2 separate regions of the Homo sapiens genome follow, and region 1 is linked to region 2. Evidence: promoter capture Hi-C in 16 types of primary human blood cells and fetal thymus (Javierre and others, 2016). All regions are on one chromosome and are shown on one strand. The core of a region is centred on a gene start or on the middle of the fragment in contact, and the rest is flanking DNA. Distances in the headings are between cores, read along the strand shown. Region 1 holds the start of CAMTA1-AS3 (CAMTA1 antisense RNA 3). Region 2 holds the start of CAMTA1-AS2 (CAMTA1 antisense RNA 2).

Region 1 (3,987 bases), core at 1,432-3,931, 380 kb after region 2:
GGAGTCTGGAGAAGGAAATCCCTGTTATTAGGTTACCTTGATTGCTTTTTCTCCTGTCTCGGCTACTAACAGAATACAGAGAGGCAATGAATCTTTTTTTTCTTTTCCTTTTTTTTTTCTTCTTTTGAGACAGGCTCGCTCTGTCACTCAGGCTGGAGTGCAGTGGTGCAATCTCAGCTCACTGCAACCTCCAACCTCCTGGGTTCAAGTGATTCTCCTGTCTCAGCCTCCCATGTAGCTGGGATTACAGGTGTCTGCCACCACGCAAGGCTAATTTTTTGTATTGTTGGTAGAGATGGGGTTTCCCCATGTTAGCCAGGCTGGTCTTGAATCCCTGACCTCAAGTGATCTACCTGCCTTGGCTTCCCCAAGTGCTGGGATTACAGGCATGAGCCACCACGCCCAGCATGAATCATTTTTAATTCAGGAAATTAAGGGTTATGTTTACTGGAGATTTTTTAGGATATAGGAAATACAAAATTCTGTAAAATTAATTTCCCCTTCCTGTTACCCATTGTGGTCCATTCATTCACCCATTCGACAGCTGAGCACCTACTGTTTGCAGAGCATTTGAAAGGTTATAAAAATGAACCACATGCTGCCCTTGCCTCCCTGCATCTAGTGACATAGGACATGCACACAATGAGGCAAAATTCACCAAGAGAACATGTGGATAAGACAGGACGCGTACCCAGCCACTGAAAGGAACCAACTGTTGACACATACACCAACTCAGACGGCTCTCACGGGTGTCAGGCTGAGGGAAAGAAGCCAGCCTGCATCTGACATTCTCAAAAAGACCAACCCATGGTGGCAGAGCAGAGATGAGTGATTTCGGGGGGTTAGGATGGGGCAGGGTGTGGCTGCATGACATGGTTTGGCTCTGTGTCCCACCCAAATCTCATGTCAAACTGTAATCCCCAATGTTGGAGGAAGAGCCTGGGGGAGGTGACTGAATCATAGGGGAGGATTCCCTCTTGCTGTTCTCATGATAGTGAGTTCTCAGGAGATCCGGCTGTTTGAAGGTGTGCAGCACCTGTCCCTTCACCCTCTTCCTCCTGCTCCAGCCATGCAGGACATGCCTGCTTCCCCTTCGCCTTCTGCCATGATTGTAAGTTTCCTGAGGCCTCCTCAGCCATGCAGGACATGCCTGCTTCCCCTTTGCCTTCCGCCACGATCCTAAGTTTCCTGAGGCCTCCCCAGCCACGCTTCCTGTACAGCCTGCAGAAATGTGAGCCAATTAAACCTTTTTTCTATATAAATTGCCCAGTCTCAGGTAGTTCTTTATAGCAATGCGAAAACAGACGAATACACTGCAGGATGTGGTGGAGCTGCCCTGTCCCTTACTTGTGGCAGTGCTAACATGGGTTAAAAGTCATGGAACGGCACAGCCCCAAAAACGTCAATTTAACTGTAAGATCATTTTTAAAATAAAATTTTTTAAACTGAAAAAAATGTCAACACTATGTGCATTCAGAGGAGAGGCAGGCTGGGCAGGCTAAGTTTAGCTGCAGCCTCACCGGAAGACATCTGACCAGACCCTGAAGACACACAGGACCTGGACAGGGGGAAGAGCAGAACATTCCAGAAAATGTGAACCGTGAGGGTGGACAGTGGGAACATGCCACAGACACTGGAAGCGGTGAGTCTGTCTGGCTCAGTGAGGAATAGAGTCAGGGGAGCAGGGGACAACGTAGGAAATCCGGTCATTAGCGCCTCCCACTCAACTGATCCCACTCGGTCCAACAACACAGTCACCATGGAGGGAGGCCCATGCAGCTCACCAGGACAGCAGGTGAGAAGAACCTCTTTGAGGACTGGAGGTCTTGAAAATTCCAAGACATCCGTCCATCCAGCAAACCAGGGCAGCACAGGGAATGGAAACTTACAAATCCCTAGCATCTGTTCTGAGAAAGAATTCTATCCTGTAATTTTCAAAATTTCTTGACTTGGAATAATAGGATCAGAGGCTCTCAGAGTTGGAGGACAATGTACAGATCATTTAGCTTGTGGTTTTTGAGTCAGGGAATGTGAAAGAAGCTCTTCCTCCAAAAAAAGACACACAGAGCCCCAATTATACAAACAACTCCAGGCATTCATCAGAAACCCACTGATGCCACCACCCGCTCCCCCACCCGGCCCCCGACATGCTGCAGGGTCTGAGAGGGTCCACAGACCCCGAAAGGTAGCTCAGAATGTGTAACCTCTAGACTGGCCCCCTCGGCTGAGTCCCACCTCTTACGAGGAGCCTGGTCATGATACCCGAGAGGAGAGGCTTCCTTTTTGAAACCAAGCCAAGCGTTGGGTTATGAGAAACAATTCCAGACTCCGTGTTAAGGGACCAAGCTCGCACGCTGTTTTGCTGCCTTAAAACAGAAGCTCGGCCATTGCTCCCTATACTTGGGCTGGGCTTTAGTTACAGAAAGGCCTCAGTCCCTGCAGCCATTCGCCTCACCATGCCCTGTCTAATGGGGCAGGCTGGGGCAGGGAGCAAAAAGGAGTTCACCTTTGTAGTGGGCGCTGGGATCCCCAGGAAGAAGGAGCCAGTCTCCAGCTTGTTCACGGTTGACCAACTCTCCAACCCCCTCAGGACTCCTGGGCTGTTTATAGCCTCACACCCCAAACACAAACTGTTGTTTGCAGCTTTTGCAGGGCCTAACCCAAGGCTCGGCTTCAACTCAGGTTTCCCTATGTGCAGACATCGAGCAGGTAAGAGACCGGCCTGCCTCTGGATGGGGTTTGAAGAACAAGAGCCAGACAGGGTACCCCAAACCCAGGCTGTGGCTTCTGCCACGGCTGAGGGCACCCTCTGAGGCACACAGCCCTGCCCAGGCGCTGCCCCAGCCAGCCGGTCCCCTTGGCAGAGCAAGCCCTTCAGAACCGCACTCGACAGGTTCCCTATCTCCCACATGGACTGGTCTATTTTAAGAACTGTATTTTTAGGACAAGCAAATGTGCTGGGCTTCCATGTTCCAAGATCACGGCCTTGCCTCTGGCAGCAGGTCCACTGCCAAGCTCCTTGTCTCTGACTTTGGAGGAGGCTCTCAGCTGGCTGCTTGTCGTTGGGGTTGAAGAAGAGGAGTCACAAGGAAGCCGAGCATTATGGGATAGTTTGAGGCCTTGAGGAGTGGAGGCAAGACAGGAAGGGAAGTTCCGCCAGCTCCCAGAAGTTGAGAATTGCAAAAGTATCCTTGCCCTCCTCACCAAGAACACAATGTAGAACCAGCAGATCACAGAGGGGCTTGTCCACACCAGGGGGGCGGTGAGTCCAGCACTCCAAAGTTCAACTCCTGGCTCCATCCCTGACTCCACCTCTGCCACCTGCAGCCAGGAACAGTGCACAGCTGAGCCACACTCTGCTTACCTAAGCACTGAGGACGGCCAGGCCTGATCTTAGCAGAATGGCTCTGGCTTCCGGGTTGAGAAAAGACTCAAGAAGGACAAAGGGGCCAGGTGTGGTGGCTCACGCCTGTAATCCCAGCACTTTGAGAGACTGAAGTGGGTGGATCACTTGAGACCAGGAGTTCAAGACCAGCCTGGTCAACATGGCGAAACCCCATCTGTACTAAAAATACAAAAATTAGCCGGGCATGGTGGTACACTTCTGTAATCCCTACTCAGGAGGCTAAGGCATGAGAATCTCGAACCTGGGAGGCAGAGGTTGCAGTGAGATAACACCGTGCCACTGCACTCCAGCCTGAGCAACAGGCTGGCGAGACTCTATCTCAAAAAAAAAAAAAAAAAAAAAAAGAAGAAGGGCAAAGGCAGGGCCTGGAGAATGGTAGAAGGGTCTGCAACTTCCCCAGCGAGAAGTGCTGGCACGGAGGAGGTGCGGCACAAGGCAATGAGGGACGAGTGTGTTTTGAAGTCACGGCCACAGGGTTTGTTGAAGGTCTGGACGTGTGGAGACGAGAGAGGGGACTCAGGGATGATCCCAAGGCTTTTGGCCCAAGACACTAGCAGGATGAAGTTGGCATTACTGGGAAG
Region 2 (3,882 bases), core at 196-2,695:
ATGGAGAAACCCCATCTCTACTAAAAATACAAAATTAGCCCAGCATGGTGGCACATGCCTGTAATCCCGGCTACTCGGGAGGCTGAGGCAGGAGAATCACTTGAACCTGGGAGGTGGGGGTTGCGGTGAGCCGAGATCGCGTCACTGCACTCCAGCCCGGGCAACAAGAGCAAAACTCCATAAAAAAAAAAACAACAACCCAGATTCTCGGAGCACTAAAACCTGTCCCCAGTCCCAGGAACCAGCTGGATGCACCACTCAGCCACTCCAACGGAGGCGAGGCCTCCTTCTCATGAAAGTGTAGAAATGGCCATCTTGAGAGAAATGGCTAAACAAGTCCAGCCCCCAGTGCTTGGTGTGGAGTCACGTCACCCTGGCACACCTGGCGGGCGGTGCAGAGCACAGGCTCTCAATGGCAGCCAGTGAGGGCACCAGGGCTGCAAGCCCCGTAGGAATGCATGTGGGGGAGAGGTGCTCTTTTTCTTTGCAGAGTGGAGCAGATTCATTTACACCCATGAGGCTTTCTTTGGTACTGAGTGCTTTCTGTAGGGTGGGGTCCCTTCCAGGAACTTTTCACAGCCTGGGTGTCTGAACAGCAACCCTACTGCCACAGGCACTACTAGCGACCCTGTTGTAGACAGGAGGAAACTGAGGCCCAGAGAGCAGAACTCACTTGCAGGGGCTCAGGAGTAGTAAGCAGCAGGGCCAATCCTGGGCCGTGCACTGGTACTGGCGTTGGCAGTGGGATCTGCGGGCTCCTTTGGGGACATGTCAGACAAGTAATGGCATCCATCACAAGGGTCCAGATAGAGCTCTGAGGGGAGGCTGGTCTGAGGCCCAGGGCCAAGGCACCCACCTGGAATGAGCCTGAGGACAGCAGGTCCCTGAGCTGTGTCAGATGCTTAGAGAAGGCAGGCACCCTGGGCGGGTTGTGTCACCCTCTTGCTCTGGCCCTGTGAACCCTAAGCTCGCTTTGCTTAAGAGAGGGAGGCTTGGCAGCTCCTAGAGGCCCAGGCCCTGGCTGAATTTCTCCAGGGTCCTCAGAGGGTGGGGAAGTGACTGGGCAGAAGTGGGAAGGAACCAGCCCTGCGCCGTCGCCCGGGCTCTTGGCTCCTGCACCCAGAGCCGTCCGGCAGGGAAGCGGCAGGTAAAGATGAATCAGTGATTCAGGGCTGCAGGCCAGGCACCAGGCCAGGCTGTAAAAGTTATTGTGCAGCATCACAATGGAAGGCGGGGGACACAAATAGCATCCGAGGGAAACTAGTGGCCCTGACTTGGAAAGCAAACCTCTCTGCAGCCACGGGACCCCCAACAGCAGCCTCACAGAGCCTGCCCCGGCCACCCTAGTCTGGGCTAACTGTCCTGCCTTCTCCTCCAAGATTCCCTTGCCTGGGTCCCTCCTCCCTCGGCCTCACCACACTCCTCTGGGGACCCTGTGCTTGGACTCCACCCTTTCCTGTCCAGACCACTGTGAAGGCCTTTAGTCACCTCCTAGAGAAGCAAGATTTTCAGCCCTGGCTTTCTACCCCCACACCCTACAGTAAGTAAGATAAATTACCCACCCACCACCTGCCCCCACTTCTCTCCACGGAGCCTCGTTCGGCCTGTGGCCACTCATGTCTGTTTCTAAGGGAACAGTCAAGGGCAAATCAGTGGAGAAGCTGGCCTGTGCTGGCAGGGGTGCTGCAATGGGGCTGTGCCCCTGCCTTCCTGCACTTCCTGCCAGGGAGCCACTCCATTCTTTTTTGCCATCTCCCAGGCCGGCCAGGGGACAGGGTCGTGTTCACACAGTGCTAAGGGAACACGCTGACGTGTGTGACATCAAGAACTCCAGTGCCCACACAGCCCGAGTCCGGATGGTGAGCTCCAGGGAGACCCAGCAGGGCTGCAGGGGGAGCACTGACTGAGCCCATGGGGGAAAGAGGCTCCTGCCGAGCCCAGAGCCCAGAGAGCTGGCCAAGGGGTAGGGTTAGGAGGGATGGAGCTGGGGGCAACAGGCTAGAGAAGAGACAGCTGGGGGTGGGAGGATCTCTCCAGGGTCGTCTCACAGCACCCAGCGGACTCGCTCTGTGCTGCTGCAGAGTGACTCTGACAGTCAGAGCCAGGCAGCCGGGGACAGGCACAGAGCCAGACTCCCTTCCTCCTCCCCCTCCCTCTCGCCGTGCAGTGCCTACTCAGTGCTGGGAGGCTCTGAATGGCACGGGGATGGAGAGTGTAACAACAGAGCGTTAGGGCCCTGCCCCAGTCCGGCAGGAAGCTCGGTCTGGTGGGGAGACCAGCCCAGGCAGACACAGCAGTGCATGCACTGGGCACACCCTGGCTCTGGCTGGAGGGCTCAGAGGCCTCAGGGCCTTCCAGCACTGGTCTCCGTGTCTGAACCCCCCATGGGACAGGATGGGAGCTGCCAGCAGAACCAACAACTCAGTTCCTGGTAACTCCAAGTGGAGATGGGCAGGAACGCTCCCAGGAGGCGCATCAGCAGTCAGAACCAGGGGCTTGGGCCTCAGGAAGGCAGGCTGCTGGCCAGGCCCCCTGGACTCAGGAGACCAAGGCCAGGACGTTCACCAGGGCCAAAGAGAGCAACACCAACAGGGCTGGGCTCCAAGGCCGGGCCGCCTCCCCTCTAGCTTCCCAACACCAGTCCTCCCTGAACATTTCCTTCCAGGAAGACAGGGGCTATTAACTACGTCCCATCCGATTCACAGGGACGTTTGAAATCAGGAAGGAGTGTGGGTTGGATCCACGTTTCTGTTCATACCAGGCAGGCACATCGGAAGGCTCACGGTCAGAGGATGCTGGGACAAACGCCACGAGAGGTTCCTTTTTGTCTGGCTCACCCAGAAGAGAGGCTCCTCTCCTCCCTTCCCTGCAGCACAACGGCCTGGCTGGCACCCAAAGGGCAGCCGGCATGGGCTGACCTCAGAGGAGCAAGGCGTGTTTGCAGCTCTGCCGCTCACATCCACAGTGGCCATGACAACAGGTGCAGCACCATCCATTAAAGCCCTGTGTCATTTCACTTAATTCTCACAACGACCCCCGGAGAAAGGGACTACTATCCCCATTTTCCAGATGAAAAAGGAAATTGGTCCTTAGAGTGATCATCCACCCAAGGCTAGTGACAGGGCTCAGATTGGAACCCAAGGCCCTCCAAGATCTCAAGTCACAGACAAAGAAAGCCCATCTCTGACTTGGCAGGGGAAGGGGGAGGTCACACTGGGAGAGCTGGATGTTGATTCTGAAGGCCTCCCCCAGTAAACCGCTCCAACAACAAAAAGGGGCTTTCTGTACATTATCTGCGAAAAGCCAAGTGAGGGGGAGGGAGGGGAAAGCAATCAAAGCAAAGATCAATTGTGTTGCAGACAATGTGGCAAGAAGACAGATCTTGCTGGAAATTCCTTCTGACTGGACTCTGCCAGGATCAGAGTATTTTTCATTCCAAGATTAAGCAAAATTCTTTCCCTGTCATAACCTCCTACCCATCTGTGTCCAAACTCCCACTATCATTTTTACACCGTGCACATTTTAAAACCTGTTTTGCAGCTTTTTCTCTGTGTGTGTTAGTTGACGCTAACCTGCCTCCAGCTTTAAGAAAAGCAGAGAAGCACGAGAGGCCCCAGGAGGCACCTGGGCTGGGTGAGCCTCAGGCTGGGACCCTGGCAGGACAGTGGCTGGGGTCTAGGGCAGCTGGGACCCTGCTTGCTGGCAGGGGCAGCTGCAGCCGTGAAGCTCAGAGACCCCACGGCCTGGCCTGGACAGAAATGGAAAACAGATGGGAGAAGAGAATGGGAATTTCTTAATAAGGGATTGGATTTGGGAAGTGAAGGGCGAGCAGAAACTAGGATTGTGAGGTCTCCTGGTTGGGGTGGCTGTGTGGTGGTGCCA

Evidence for each region. Contacts are between HindIII fragments. The CHiCAGO score rates a contact against its expected background, and 5 or more counts as called.
Region 1: the fragment with the promoter of CAMTA1-AS3 here is called in contact with the fragment with the promoter of CAMTA1-AS2 in region 2 in 7 of 17 cell types (M1 macrophages, total B cells, neutrophils and 4 more); the score reaches 11.9 in M1 macrophages.

The regions. Positions count from the first base shown.
Region 1 is chr1:7,012,973-7,016,959 of GRCh38, reverse strand. CAMTA1-AS3 (CAMTA1 antisense RNA 3) reads left to right here and starts at 2,681. Exons shown (of 2, transcript NR_182292.1): 1 at 2,681-2,709. All of the region lies in intron 3 of CAMTA1 (calmodulin binding transcription activator 1), which reads right to left. The HindIII fragment of the contact is 7,421 bases long and covers 1-3,987 here.
Region 2 is chr1:7,387,317-7,391,198 of GRCh38, reverse strand. It overlaps CAMTA1-AS2 (CAMTA1 antisense RNA 2), which reads left to right and starts at 1,445. Exons shown (of 3, transcript NR_146199.1): 1 at 1,445-1,540; 2 at 1,760-1,859. All of the region lies in intron 5 of CAMTA1 (calmodulin binding transcription activator 1), which reads right to left. RefSeq lists an enhancer at 2,533-3,070. The HindIII fragment of the contact is 18,859 bases long and covers 1-3,882 here.